Regions from separate parts of the Homo sapiens genome. Here all the other regions are linked to region 1. The links are contacts of gene promoters, found by promoter capture Hi-C in human tissues and cell types (Jung and others, 2019). All regions are on one chromosome and are shown on one strand. The core of a region is centred on a gene start or on the middle of the fragment in contact, and the rest is flanking DNA. Distances in the headings are between cores, read along the strand shown. Region 1 holds the start of FBXO15 (F-box protein 15). Region 2 overlaps NETO1 (neuropilin and tolloid like 1). Region 3 overlaps NETO1-DT (NETO1 divergent transcript).

Region 1 (4,709 bases), core at 896-3,395:
CATATTTGGGAATGTTGCTCCCATCAATTCACTCAGCCACAAGGACTGTCACGTCTGAATGGGGTGCAGATGAGGGAAGGGGTCCCTAAGCAGGCCTGGTGTGCAGTGCAAGCATGAGCACTGTTGCCTGAGCCAGATGACCTGATGCACATGCTGTTTGCCACTTCTATGCCTTTCACCTCTGCATACAGGTTGTTCCTTCGTGCTGAACTAGTATGAATGAAAAGCTAGGTTTTTGGCATAGTCAGCAGACTCTAAAACAATTGGTATGATCCAATTTTTTGGGTTAAAAATTATTAAAAGGTATGTGTATGAAAGTGCAAAATGTTAAAAATAGTCATCTTCGTGTGGTATAATCATGGCGGTCTAAATTGCTTTGTCTTTTTTTTTCCTACAAATCACATGCGAAATGAAGACATTAAAAAAAAATCTTAAAATATCTGTGAATACATCTCTGACTTTCCCTGACAACTTACATTCCATCCTCCCTATTTTATGTTTTTCTATTACTGCAGGTAACATGTGAAAGTTTTCCCTACCAGTTATGAGTCAATAATCTCTCTCTCTCTCTTTTTATCCTATCCAATTACTCTTTATTATATGTAACAGAGCCAATATAACTTGAGAAAAATTTCCCAAACATAATGAAAAAAAGTTATATCAAATTCAAGATCAACTTTCACATCTGAGTTCCAATCTGTGAAGAAAACTGTAGATCTATATGTTCTAGTTCTAAATTATGTTTAAACGGTTTTTAAAAATTCATGTGAATTGCTTTTTCACCTTTAGCAGTGAACTTGGTATAAAAGGGCATTGGCAGCTCTTGTCATGTCTGTTGAAAGCCCAATCATTAAAGTACTCCTTTTTACCTTTTTGTGATGTTGGGACGGCGGTTCCCCCTCTCTGACTCCTGTGCACAGACACTTGTTTGCTGCCATCCTCCTTTGCTTTTCGGGGGCTCGGTCCCTGCGTCCAGATGGTTTTCTGGGTGACTCCAAGAATACATCTAGGTCGCAGCGTTTTCTTTTGATATTGAAGCCCACATCTCAAACTGGGCTCAGTCTTCAAGCACGCTTTGTTAAGCACGATGTATGGCAAAAGCAATCGCTTTGCCGAGGACCTGTGCAGCTTCTCCGTATACTGTACGGCTCGTAGAAAAGTACAAATCATGTTCACGGAAAATCGTTCCGCTTAGGGACGATGCTAACTACAATTAGGAAAGCTTTAGGGTTCACTACACATGCGGCCGGACACGTACTCAAGCCTATACGTTTACATTACATGGGGTGTTAGGCAAAAACGTCAGTTTCCGCAGCGTAAATGAAAACGAAAAGTCTCCAGGGAGAACCTGATGTCTACCTTCCCTTCTGTCTTCTTTCCATTTTAATTAACAGGCTCTGATCACCTTCTGGGCTGACATTCACAGTGTCCCCGCCATGCCTTCGCAAAGTCACCTGGGAAACCCCCGTCTTCCTGGGAATAGTAGTTTGAAAACCTCGCTCTTAACTGGGATACGGCAAAGAGGCGCGCAAAAGAGACTACATCTCCCACAATTCAAGGCGGCCAGAGCACGGCGCAGGTCCTTCCCGCGCCCCCAGACGCCTCCGCGCCCAGCGTCGGCGCAGACGCTGCGCGTCCCTGGAGCGGCGGAAAGTGGGGTGTTGGTGGGGGAATTGGTACCACCCACCCTACGTGGTTCAGGCGGGACTTGCAAAAGCCAAATTAGCAGTTACAATCTACGTGTTTTCCTGATCCTTATAGAGAGGACTGTGCACAGTGGGAAATACCCCCTTGGACTGTGGTCTTGCCAATTCCGCGTGGGCAAATGATTTAGTTTTTGCGTTTTACTGTGTTTTCAGAAAAACTGGACAATAAAGAGTCAGCAAGTGGGGATGAACGAGGCCGCTGCAAAGCAGGCACCGGTTTCCTAAATGGTTAAGCCGCGAACTTGGCTTGGCGCCCTAGGCGGCAGAATGTTAGGGGTGGGTAAGGAAGCCGAGGCCCGGAAGTTTCTAGAAGCCCGCTCTGTGAGCGGGTGTCTGGCGCGGTGCCGTCTGCGCAAGGGTGGGCATACCGTTACTTTTGCTCACGCGCGCATGCGCATAAGGGGTGTGGCGACGTGCGGGCGTGGGGGCGGTGCGTGCACTCTTCGTTTCAGCCCTGGCGCGGTCCTGTGGTGAACTCCTTGTCTCTATGGCGACTGGACGCGGTCGGATCTTGCAGCAGCACTGGCTCGGCCTCCAGACGCTGCGCGGGCCCAGCAGGGGCGGTGGCGCGGCCCGGGGGCGCGCCAGGGCCTTTGGGTGCAGGTGACTGTAGGGCCTGCGGGTGGGGTCCCCTGGCGGGAAGCCCGTCACTGCGCGGCCCCGCTCTCTTCACCGTGTATTTTATTCGTCCAGCTTGGCGCAAGGCCCGTGGCCGTCTTCAACGTGAGAAGGGTATGGAAGAACGACCGGAGGAAATCCTTTCTACCCTGCAACGTGGGGTACCCTAAGTTATGACACAAATAGAGTAGCCTCTCGGGGAAATATTTTTTCTTGCGGCGCCTGTGGCCGGGGATGCGCGCACCTGCCAGGACAGGTGCAGGTCCAAGAGGTCGTTTCTCCGGGATGCGTGCCCTAAATTCACGTGTGCTCCGCCCCTGCCTTCGTATTTTCGCTCTTCTGTAACCAAGAATCTCCCTTCGTGTTTTTCATGACCTTACAACTTAGGGAAGTAGAGTCTGTTCATCAAAACCTTATCAGTTGACACCCTCATCCCCCAAGCAGATACCTCGGGCAGGCAGGTTGGTCTGGCGGGTGGGGGGCAGCACTTTCTGCACCTCCAACGTCAAGGCTAAGTTGCCATCTACATTGCCAGGTCTTGCTCATCTGCTTTCCAGAAGCATCTTCAGCGTGAAGAAGTAAAATGAGCCAGTGCATCAGAAGTATCAGCATGCATAATGGTACCTTATGAAATCCCTCTCATTATATCGTGAGCTGTTCCCTAGCTGTGTACCCATCACTGCAGTTAGTTTACAGATGGAGGGATAATGCCAAGAATGGTTTACATTCTTGAGGATTATCTTTCTGCTTGTAAGACTCCTTGATTTATAAATAGGGAAAGTCATGCATATTTTGCCTTCTAATAAACCAATGGTCTATGTTTAAGCACACAAAGGGAGTCTATTACATACTAGTTGAACTACTTGTTTTTTCCCCCTGAATCTCCAGAACTATGTCCTGTGTCCTCTCTAGGTCTCCATTACTTCCACTTACCTGTTTTCAGAAGCCCAGCCCTGTTGCTTAGTGCTGTGATAATAGTTCTTAATTGAATACCTATAATGCTAGACATACCACAAGCCTTGTCACAAATAGAATGGTGACAATGCCTGCAAAAATTCTTTTATGTAGGAGAAAAAGCAGGAATTTAAATAGGAAACTTGAACTTTTAATCAATTTGCTGCTATTACTAAAATTAGTCTTTACATAGTGCTCTATTAGGGGGAAGCAGAATGATTTTTATATGATGAATCTTTTATCCTTTGTAAGTTGAGTGAACTTCCTGGATTGATATAATTAGAGGGCCTGTCATTATGCCTGGCATGGGAACCTGCATTTCAAGCTGATTTGGAAATGTATGCATTATTTTTGGTAAAGAAAAGTCCGCTGCTAAAAATAGAATGATTGACTATGGTCAAAGCAGGTGGTTATTTTAATATATCGCTGTGGAAAATTAGATGTTGTTAAGGAATCAGTGTTCCCTTTTAACACAAAATGTGAATATGTATAAATATCACAAACTGTAAGAAGTGTAGCAGAAAGCGTATTAAGTTGGCTTAATTTGTACCTGCTGTAATTTATTTGATTTGCCAGATATTTAAAATGAAGCACAGTCATTAGGTTTTTAAAATATTGGACTTATTGAAAGCTATCAGACAAAAACCTGTCACTTGAAAAAAAGTGTTTTCAAACTAAATTTATCTTGCTAAATGTATCAGTGTATGTCTACACTTAACCTTGTAGACGTATAGATTCGCATAAAAACATAAATAGAACTTGCTGATTTGTTAATTATGTGGACCTTAAAAATGTGCAATTGGGGCCGGGTGCAGTGGCTCACGCCTGTGATCCCAGCACTTTGGGAGGCGGAGGCGGGCAGATCTGGAGGTGAGGAGATCGAGACCATCCTGGCTAACACTGTGAAACCCCGTCTCTACTAAAAATACAAAAAAATTAGCCCGGCATGGTGGCGGGCGCCTGTAGGCTCAGGTACTCAGGAGGCTGAGGCAGGAGAATGGCGTGAACCCAGGAGGCGGAGCTTGCAGTGAGCCGAGATAGCGCCACTGCACTCCAGCCTGGGCGACAGAGCCAGACTCTGTCGCAAAAAAAAAAAAAAAAAAAAAGTGCAGTTGGTTTATTTTATGGATAAATAGAAATGTGTTTCCAATAGTGTTAAAAGGTACACTGATAAGATGTATGGTCTCATGTAAGACATGGTACAGAGAGCTCTGACAGGACATTAAGGAGATGGGCGTCTCAGAGACTGTCTTTGCTTCTAGCTTGGGACCTTAAGTTTCTTTAGTTGCCTTGTTAGAGCCTTAGCCTTGTAAACTGAAATGAGGGACTCTATGAGATCCATTTTAATTGTGAAAAAACAAAACAGCAAGAAATAAGCTTTGACGTTTTAAAAGTGTGAAAACATGTTTGTAATAAAATAGCCTTCATATT
Region 2 (4,709 bases), core at 1,603-4,102, 1.3 Mb after region 1:
CTCTGCCTCCGGGTTTCAGTGATTCTCGTGCCTCAGTCTCCTGAGTAGCTGGGATTCCAGGCATGCAACTCCACGCATGGCTGATTTTTATATTTTTGGTAGAGATGGGATTTCACCATGTTGGCCAGACCAGTCTTGAACTCCTGGCCTCAAGTGATCCGCCCACCTCAGCCCCCCAAATGCTAGGATCACAGGCGTGAGCCACCACATCCAGCTAAAAGAAGGACTTCGATTTTTTTTTCCACATAAAAATAAAAGATTGAAAAAATTTAGGTCAGTATGTGTTGTCTTTTTAACTATGACTTGGTGCAAAAGTACTTGCGGATTTGCCATCACCTTTACCTTTAATGGCAAAACTGCAGTTACTTTTGCACCAACCTGAATGTTCTGTTTATACTACTGACTCAAAATATTCTCATTTCAGCCCTAGCAGAGGCTCTTAAATGGAAAAGGTAAGGAGCATAATCACATTTATTCTTGAGGCATATTTTTCAAGAAATGAATTTAAAAACTTGAAAATCACAGAGAATCACAGCACTGAGAAAATTACCAATGTGTGACAAGGTGCGGTGACTCATGCTTGTAATCCCAGCACTTTGGGAGGCTGAGGCGGGTGGATCACCTTAGGTCAGGAGTTTGAGACCAACCTGGCCAACATGGTGAAACTCTGTCTCTACTAAAAATACAAAAAAATTAGTCGGGCGTGGTGGCAGGCGCCTGTAATCCCAGCTACTCGGGAGACTGAGGCGAGAGAATTGCTTGAATCCGGGAGGTAGAGGTTGCAGTGAGCTGAGATCATGCCACTGCACTCCAGCCTGGGCAATAGAGCAAGACCCTGTCTCAAAAAAAAAAAAAAAAAGAAAAAGAAAATTATCAATGTATTGATATTTTTGAATAATCAAGATATTCATGTGAAGGTGATTTCTTCCATCTCTCACTTTTCTGGCCAGTCCATGACTTGGCTTACCTTATCTGTATAATAGTGGGCTCAGGAGGAGGGATGAGGAATGAAGAGAGACAGAAATCTTGTTTGGTCTAGGTGGGTGTTCAGGAGAAAAGCTGAGAGTGGGAGAGAAAATTTCCAGGATTAGCTCCCATCTGTGCAGAGAATATTGAAAGCAGTGGCAAAGGAAAAGGAAGATTTTTAAGAAGTTTCCCATAAAGAAAGAGTGTCTTCCGGCCGGGCACGGTGGCTCACGCCTGTAATCCCGGCACTTTGGGAAGTTGAAGCCGGCGGATCACGAGGTCAGGAGATGGAGACCATCGTGGCTAACACGGTGAAACCCTGTCTCTACTAAAAATACAGAAAAATTAGCCGGTCGTGGTGGCATGTGCCTGTAGTCCCAGCTACTCGGGAGGCTGAGGCAGGAGAATCACTTGAACCCAGGAGGCGGAGGTTGCAGTGAGCCGAGATCATGCCATTGCACTCCAGCCTGGGCCACAGAGCGAGACTCCATCTCAAAAAGAAACAAACAAACAAACAAACATGAAAAGGAAGAAAGGTGTCTTCCTCATCTTGTTTCCTGGAGAGGTGGAGAAAAGAAGAGTACTTAAGTGTGTTTATATTTATTTATCGGCTAATCGCCGGACTATGTTTTAAATAGAGTACATCTGAGATTGGAACACATGGGGTCCTAGATATATTTCCATTATTGATATATGTTTTCCTTAGATTAGAAAAGACCTTGGAATTTATTTCCTTCAACCTTTCTACTTAAAAATCAAGAGAGCAGAGTGCTAGAGAAAATGTGTGGCCTGGGTTCAGGTACTCTGTAAATATTAAATTACTACTTGTGTATCAGTTATATAAGCACGGTGCTGATACACCTTCTACAAAGTGTTGAGATTATAACTTTAATTACATCACATATTGCAAGTAATTTTAGTACGGTTATATTAAGAAATTTAATTAAGGGATAATACTATATATATCACCCGCGTTTCACCATTAACTGATACATGATTTTAAAATTCATCTTCTCCATGTTGTTTGAAATGTTTTTCCACTCGCAATGTCCAAAGAAAGGATGGTTTTTCGTCTCTCCTTCTACCTCAATTGTAAAATTGTGCCTTCTCAACCCATCTGAGCCTAAAGTGCATGATTCATTTCCTGTTCTTCTCAAATACCTATTATTACTGACATAGTCTTCTGTGTGTACCGTGCTCTCATTAGTTGAAACTTGTGGCTCACATGTTAAATACTCAAGGGGAAAACTTTAGTTTATTTCTCCTAGATCTCCCACGAATTTTGTTTTCTTTCTTTCTTTTTTCTTTTTTTGTTTTGAGGGAGTTTCGCTCTTGTTGCCCAGGCTGGAGTGCAGTGGTGCAATCTCAGCTCACCACAACCTCCTTCTCCCGGGTTCACATAATTCTCCTGCCTCAGCCTCCCTAGTTGCTGGGATTACAAGCATGCGCCACCACGCCAGGCTAATTTTGTATTTTTAGTAGAGACAGGGTTTCTCCACGTTGATCAGGCTGGTCTCGAACTCCCGACCTCAGGTGATCCGCCAGCCTGGGCTTCCCAAAGTGGTGGGATTACAGGCGTGAGCCACCATGCCCGGCCGATCTCCCACGAATTTTCCTGCTCCCTAACACCCAGGTTTCTTTGGGTTTTTCCTGTGATGCCGGTTCCTTTCGCTCACCTCCCACTCCATCCCTCTATTCAGGGCTGCTGATCCCAGCAGTACACAGGAAAGACACTCAGTTGCAGCACAGAAATGAGCTCGTTCCATGCACATTCAGATTCCCCAGAGCAGGGCTCCATCCAGAAGTGGGACTGTTGGCTAATCTACAAAATGTTGTTTTATGGAATGGTAGAGGCCTTGCTTGGGTCAGTCCTAAGGTTACCTCTATGTCGAATCCCATCATCAAATGACCAGCACCCACACCCCTCACTAAATTTCCCTAAAGATAAATTGTATCACTTGACAAGAGAAAAACTCAAGAAACATGACAAAAACAAAACAAATAAATAATTCTTACACTCAATCTCCATTTTGAACTTTCATGCATCTCAATGTCTTTAGTTACTGGGCTTCTTGGTAAAATCTTCTGAAATCTCTGACTAACATTTAACTCATTATTGTATTCAAGAAACATGCTTTTCAAATTACTAAAGCCCTGTATATTTTTCCTAAGAAAATATTGACGAGTCTATTTATTCTCCTAAACATTTCCTTTCATAACAATTTGCAGACAATTTGAGGCTTATTTTTATTTAATTATTTGAAAACTAAATCAAGGAATTATAAACAACCCATAGTGTTCTTTGTCTAGACCAAAACATTTTTCCTATTATATTTTATAATTTGCATGCCATTACAACTACTTGAGTATAACTCATGTTAATATTCTTAAAGTGAATGCACAGAAGACCTTGATTTCTACTAGGTGATATTAGCCACCTACACTTATTTAACAACTGTTTATTGATCCACTATGCTAACACTGTAGAAATATAGTATCTGCAAGACCCTAGCTTTCATACAGTGAGTTCATAGTCTGTTAAAAACTAGAAGCCATGTATAGTAGCCAGATAATATACCCTCCCCACAAGATGTCTATGTCCTAATTTCTGCAATCTATGAATATGTCAAGTTCTATGGCAAAGAGATGTGAAGGTGGAAAGTTGTATTAATAATGCTAATAAGCTGACTTTAATAAAGGGAGATTATCTTGGATTATCTGGGAGGACCCAGTGTAATTACAAGGCTTTCTCAGTATGTAACGAAGGAGGCAGTAGGGTCAGGATCGGGTGATGGGATGTAAGAAACACTCCAGCTGCTATTGTGGGCTTTGAAGATGGATGAAGTGGCAGCAAGCCAAAGAATGTGGACAGCTTCTAGAACGGAAAAGACCAGGTATGACTTGTCTCCTGCAGCCTCCAAGGAAAGGAACACAGCCCTGCAAATGCCTTGATTTTTAGGCCAGTGAGACCCATTCAGATTTCTGACATCAGAACCAGAGATAAATTCCTGTTGTTTATTAAGGTTCTAAGTTGTGGTAATTGTTAAAGCAACAAATAAGAAACAAATACTTGATTTTATTTCCTAAAAGTGAAGTGCTACAGTAAAATAAATAAATAAAAACCTTAAAATTTGGAAATAGTTTTGGAATTAGGCAGTTGGCAAAAGCTGGAAGAATTTTGAGAAGCATGTTAGAAAAACGTCTATATTGCCTTAAACTTACTGTTAGTAGAAATATGAATCTTACTGACTCTGGCACAAGGACACAGAAGGAAGTGAGAAGCATGGTAGAGAAAACATGCATGTCTTAAAGAATACCTAAATCTTCATCAACAGACTATTTGTGGAAGTATGAAGTTTATAGGTGCTGATGACGACAGCTCAACAGAAAATGGAATATGTGTTTGGAAACCGACGGAAAGGGTATATCTGTTATGTTGAATCACAAAGCTTAGTAGAATTATATCCTGGAGTTATATGGATAAATAAAAAAGCAGAACATTATGCAATTAACTTGGATATTTAACTTTAAGGAATTTATTGTCAATTAAAATGTAAGCCCCTTGGATGAGATTGGAAAAGCATGCCTTAGAGAATAAACTGAGCTGGACAACTTTTTGCTGATCCCCTAGAAAGATCAAAAGATCAGAGAATTCAGTCTCACAAAAGGCTCTTTGAAATGATTAGGAGTGTGACTCATAAAGCTCTTCAGTCAGTCATCTCAGCAGAATCCAAAAATAGGAT
Region 3 (4,709 bases), core at 788-3,287, 1.3 Mb after region 1:
CTATGCCTGTTTTTGTTTTGAAGTCTTATGATATTGTATAATTATATTATGAAATATCATTAAGTTGAAATATTCCTTTTCCTTTTTCGTTATTACTTTACCCTTATCACTCTGAGATGGCATTATTACAGAACTATCTCTCAGAACGTCCCCACTTATAGCCCTTAGCCTTCTCCAGTTTCCTCCACCAAGGACACGATTCTTCTGTTTCCTACAGAGATTTTCACATTTTTCGTATTGGTTATTGAGCTTGGCTTTGAGGCATATGAACCTTTCTTGACTTAGGTCTCTATCAGCATTGTTATATTAAACTATAAAAGACATATGCTTGATGATGCAGATAGAGACATAAATACAAATATAGGTGTAGACATAGATATTGAAGTAGGTATAGGTACCTGCATAGTTCTGGGTACACTTATAGATATGGATATTAGCCATCTCTAGGCTTGCATGGAACAGCTTCCATATGCTGCTGTTCACAATCATGGGCAGTACTGACCGTGTTAACAAAACATAAATATTTATTTATATATGCTACCACTGTGCTCAGTGCTTTTGATGTCTTCCCATTTAAACTCTTAAATAGTCCTATGTGTTATTAGGACTGTCTTACAGAGGAGAGCGCATAGGCTAAGAAAGTTTAAGTAATTATTATATACCTAGTAACTGATAGACCTGGTATTCAAACAAAATGTTCTTGACTTCAATGCTCTCAACTTCTACACATCATGTTTTAACATTAAGGATTTAACATCGTATTAAGGAACTGTCGCTTTTCTAGGAGGTCAAGTTATTATTATTCAGCTAGGATATTATATTCCCTTTCTACTCATCTATTCTCTCCTTATACTGCATGTGTGTCTATAAATGTGTGTGATTCCAGTAAGACTTTCAATAACTTGATAATCTCTGCTCTCTCTCATTTTTACCATCTTCATGCCATGGGATTTCTGATCCCTGTGCAGTTCCCTACAATGAATTTGCTTTATTTTTCCCCGATAATTGCCCTTTTTTAATATATTTTTTTCTTTTCTTTTTGGGATCAACTGTCATAAAGCTTATTACATTTGGCAGTGGCCTCGAGGCACTCACACTCTGGCTAGAAGTGAGTGACTGGCAACATGCAGAAAGAATGAGGGCTTTCCCTTGAACTCCGGTGAAATCATCTATGTAGCTTCCCCCCCCGGCCCACCTCGCCCCCCTCCCCAGTATGGTAGAAGGTCTTGGATTCTATCAGTTATGGAGTTACCAAAAAAAGTGGCATTATAGAAATCACTGCACTTCTTTTGGCCTCATTTTCTTCATTTAAAAAATGATAAGATACGATAAGATCAAGGATTGCCAACGGAAATACATACATAGGCAGGGCAAGTAAGACCTAACAAATCACAACTATATCCTGTGTGCTAATTAGTAAAAACTGGTGTCTTAAGAGTTTTGATAGAGATGCAAAACTTCATATTAGTGCAAATGAAATGGAAAGTAGTGTGGATATTCCCCCCCTACCACCCCTTTTTTTTTCTGAGGCGGAGTCTTGCTCTGTTGCCTACACTGGAGTGCAGTGGTGTGATCTCGGCTCACTACAACCTCTACCTCCCAGGTTTAAGCAATTCGCCTGCCACAGCCTTCCAAGTAGCTGGGACTACAGGCATGCACCAGCACACCCAGCTAATTTTTGTATTTTTAGCAGAGACAGGGTTTTACCATGTTAGCCAGGCTGGTCTCGAACTCCTGACCTCAAGTGATCCACCCACCTTGGCCTCCCAAAGTGCTGGGATTACAGACATGAGCCACTGCGCCTGGCTGGATATTTCCTACATAGTGTCAGGGAGTTAGTGAGCGTGTTGGAAATTGTGGTGAATTATCGATTGCTTGTGGCTCACGCCTGTAATCCCAGCACTTTGGGAGGCCGAAGCAGGTGGATCACCTGAGAACAGGAGTTCAAGACCAGCCTGGCCAATATGGTGAAACCCCGTCTCTAATAAAAATACAAAAAGTGGCCAGGTATTGTGGTACGTGCCAGCTACTTGGGAGGCTGAGGCAGGAGAATCACTGGAACCCGGGAGGTGGAGGTTGCAGTGAGCCAAGATCGCGCCACTGCACTCCAGTCTGGGTGACAGAGCAAGACTCAGTCTCAAAAAAAAAAAAAAAAAGAAAAGAAAAGAAAAGAAAAAATATATATACCAAAAATTAACTGCATCTATCAATTATAAAACTATAATAGAGAATATTTAAATAATAATTTACTAAAAAGTAAAATATATTTTGCCTTAATTTTTGAAAATTATTGTAACTATAACTATTTGGCAAAAATTCTGCTGCTATATACATTGCTACTTTCTGAAAATATATTATTTGTAAATTTATCTAACCTAAAACTGAAAACAAAGTTAGTTTATGTTTCATATCTTGTCTTGCAAATGTAAATGGAAACATGGTAGGACATTTCCTTACACATATTAATTATAACAGAGAATGGACACTCAAAGAAAGAATAGGTAAATCAGGTAATTAGTGTTTAAAAAAGGAAGATTTTCATTTAACATTTCCCTTCATGCACAAAAGCTTGGTACTCTCCTCAAAATGTATTTAAGTCAGGTAAGTCCTGGATGTTAAGTCCTACCTTAACATCCAGGGTTACTTTCACCAAGCAAATCATGGCTTTTGTTAGTTTCCAAATCCACATAATAATATATCATAATAAGATTAAAGTATGTGCTAAATAGCCAAAGTTATTAAGTTTATGTGATGCTATTAACTTATATAATTATGAAAAAAGGCTGGGCGCTGTGGCTCACACCTGTAATCCCAGCACTTTGGGAGGCTGAGGCGGGCTGATCACCTGATGGTAGGAGTTTGAGACCAGCATGGCCAACATGGCAAAACCCTGTTTCTACTAAAAATATAAAAAAAAATTGTGCGGGCGTGGTGGCGCACACCTGTAATCCCAGCTACTCTGGAGGTTGTGGCAGGCTTGAACCCAGGGAGCAGAGGTTGTAGTGAGCCGAGATCGTGCCACCTCATTCCAGCCTGAGCAACAGGGCGAGACTTCAACACACACACACACGCACACACACACACGCACACACAAAGTATGTCTAACCCATGAGAAACTTTCACATGTCTGATTTAGCACACTGAAGTAACATTTTGTTTGTATTTATTAATGGTTATTTTGACATGGAATATGTAGATTTACCCTTTAGTTTAGCTTATATTTTCCAAATATGCCGTCTTCTAGGAGTGGAAACTTGTTTTTTCCCTGAAATAGCAGTGCGTGGACTTTGTGGTACAATACTTATACTATAAAGGTGGCTTCTGTACAGAGCCTTTACACTTTTAATCTTGGGGTGTATCTTCGTAAATGTTCCTGAAGTTTATGTTGATTTATAGAGGATGAGCTTATAATTAGTCGAGTGATCATAAAAATAATTGGTATTATTTTTATAAGCCACTGCGAAGTAAATATCAATCAAAATGAAAATTTTTTTTCTGAAGTTTTGATATGGATTGAAGGATCATGTATCTGAAAGTGCTAACTGGCAAAGGAAGTGCTATGAAAGTTCTTTCCCACAAGAGGCAAACATTCTTGTGCTGCCTAAGAATACAATATATTTGTACTTCTAACAAAACTATATTTTATTTTTCCCTAGTGGTGATCATAAAATATCCTGTTTGGTTTAAATGTAAGATTTCAGAGATTTTGACAGGTCTTCTATTTCGTGGAGACTTTCTACTGCGTTAGGATACTCCTATAGATTTTTTGAAGAGAGCTTCTTCAATATTGCTTAAAACCAGCTTCATGTTAGACTATTTCAGAGAATTTTCAAAAAACATTCCTATATTTACCAGCAAATTACTTGTTTTTGAGAAACTAGTATTATGACATATATTGTTAAATGCAAAAACCTTTACACTTCACAACCATGTAAATAAATTATGTAAAAATCAGAAAATATTATTGTAATATGGATGTGTCATTAGCACTATTACATTTGAGTTATTTTTTGTAGCATCACCTCTTTTACTGATAGACAACTTTTAAGATGATGCCAGTACTGGAGATTAATTAACAAAGGAGCCCTGGTAGAACTGTAGCTTTATTTTTTCCTATAGAGAAGTACATGTATGTAGACAAATACTATGTGCATTTGAATTAGAAGGGCTTGTACCCTACGCCAATTCTTTTTAGGATTTTGGAAGTCCATATGATCTTTCATTGTTAGGAAGCTGCAAGCTGAGAAATAAAACCAACTTACTAATGACACCTTCATTGGGTTCAAGTGGCTTTAATTCTGCACCATCTTCTATAGTAGTCACTATTTCAATGCTAACCTTGGGGAACTGCGACAAAGCACCATCTTCCAGGATGGCACACTCAACTCACAAAAGCTATCAGTTTATATGCTCTTCCTTTCAAAATAACGACATCATCTTGTAATTTGACCATATGTTTGCGCAACCTTTTCTGGGAGAAACTGAACTTTTCCCATATGTTGTTTTTTCTCAGAAAGAAAAATCTTATGGGTCCCTATTAGGGAGGTAGCATTACTCAGCAAGTGTGGATTCTGGAACTCAAAAATGAGAAGGCAGCTTGCCAAGTAAACAGGATGTAGTGGATGGTGAAAAGCGTGTATGGGTGTGTATGAAGAAAAATGAATGGAATTGTCAATAACAATGCTACACTTGCAGCCTGGAAAGAGTAG

What was found. Contacts are between HindIII fragments. The study calls those that stand out against the background at their distance.
Region 2: a contact is called between a fragment that was not itself captured here and the fragment with the promoter of FBXO15 in region 1, in 1 of the 25 tissues and cell types used here (dorsolateral prefrontal cortex).
Region 3: a fragment that was not itself captured here is called in contact with the fragment with the promoter of FBXO15 in region 1 in 1 of the 25 tissues and cell types used here (dorsolateral prefrontal cortex).

What each region holds. Positions count from the first base shown.
Region 1 is chr18:74,145,270-74,149,978 of GRCh38, reverse strand. FBXO15 (F-box protein 15) reads left to right here and starts at 2,145. Exons shown (of 10, transcript NM_001142958.2): 1 at 2,145-2,309. The coding sequence starts at 2,194. TIMM21 (translocase of inner mitochondrial membrane 21) reads right to left here and starts at 1,456. Exons shown (of 6, transcript NM_014177.3): 1 at 870-1,456. The coding sequence starts at 1,170. RefSeq lists enhancers at 1,206-1,295, 1,376-1,425, 1,456-1,575 and a silencer at 2,266-2,415. The HindIII fragment of the contact is 7,122 bases long and covers 1-4,709 here.
Region 2 is chr18:72,848,984-72,853,692 of GRCh38, reverse strand. All of the region lies in intron 4 of NETO1 (neuropilin and tolloid like 1), which reads left to right. MIR548AV (microRNA 548av) reads left to right here and starts at 311; the gene lies at 311-372. RefSeq lists an enhancer at 4,673-4,709. The HindIII fragment of the contact is 7,607 bases long and covers 1-4,709 here.
Region 3 is chr18:72,871,142-72,875,850 of GRCh38, reverse strand. All of the region lies in intron 1 of NETO1-DT (NETO1 divergent transcript), which reads right to left. Among named protein-coding and RNA genes, the nearest start is that of NETO1-DT, 5.1 kb to the right of the region's middle. The HindIII fragment of the contact is 4,400 bases long and covers 1-4,237 here.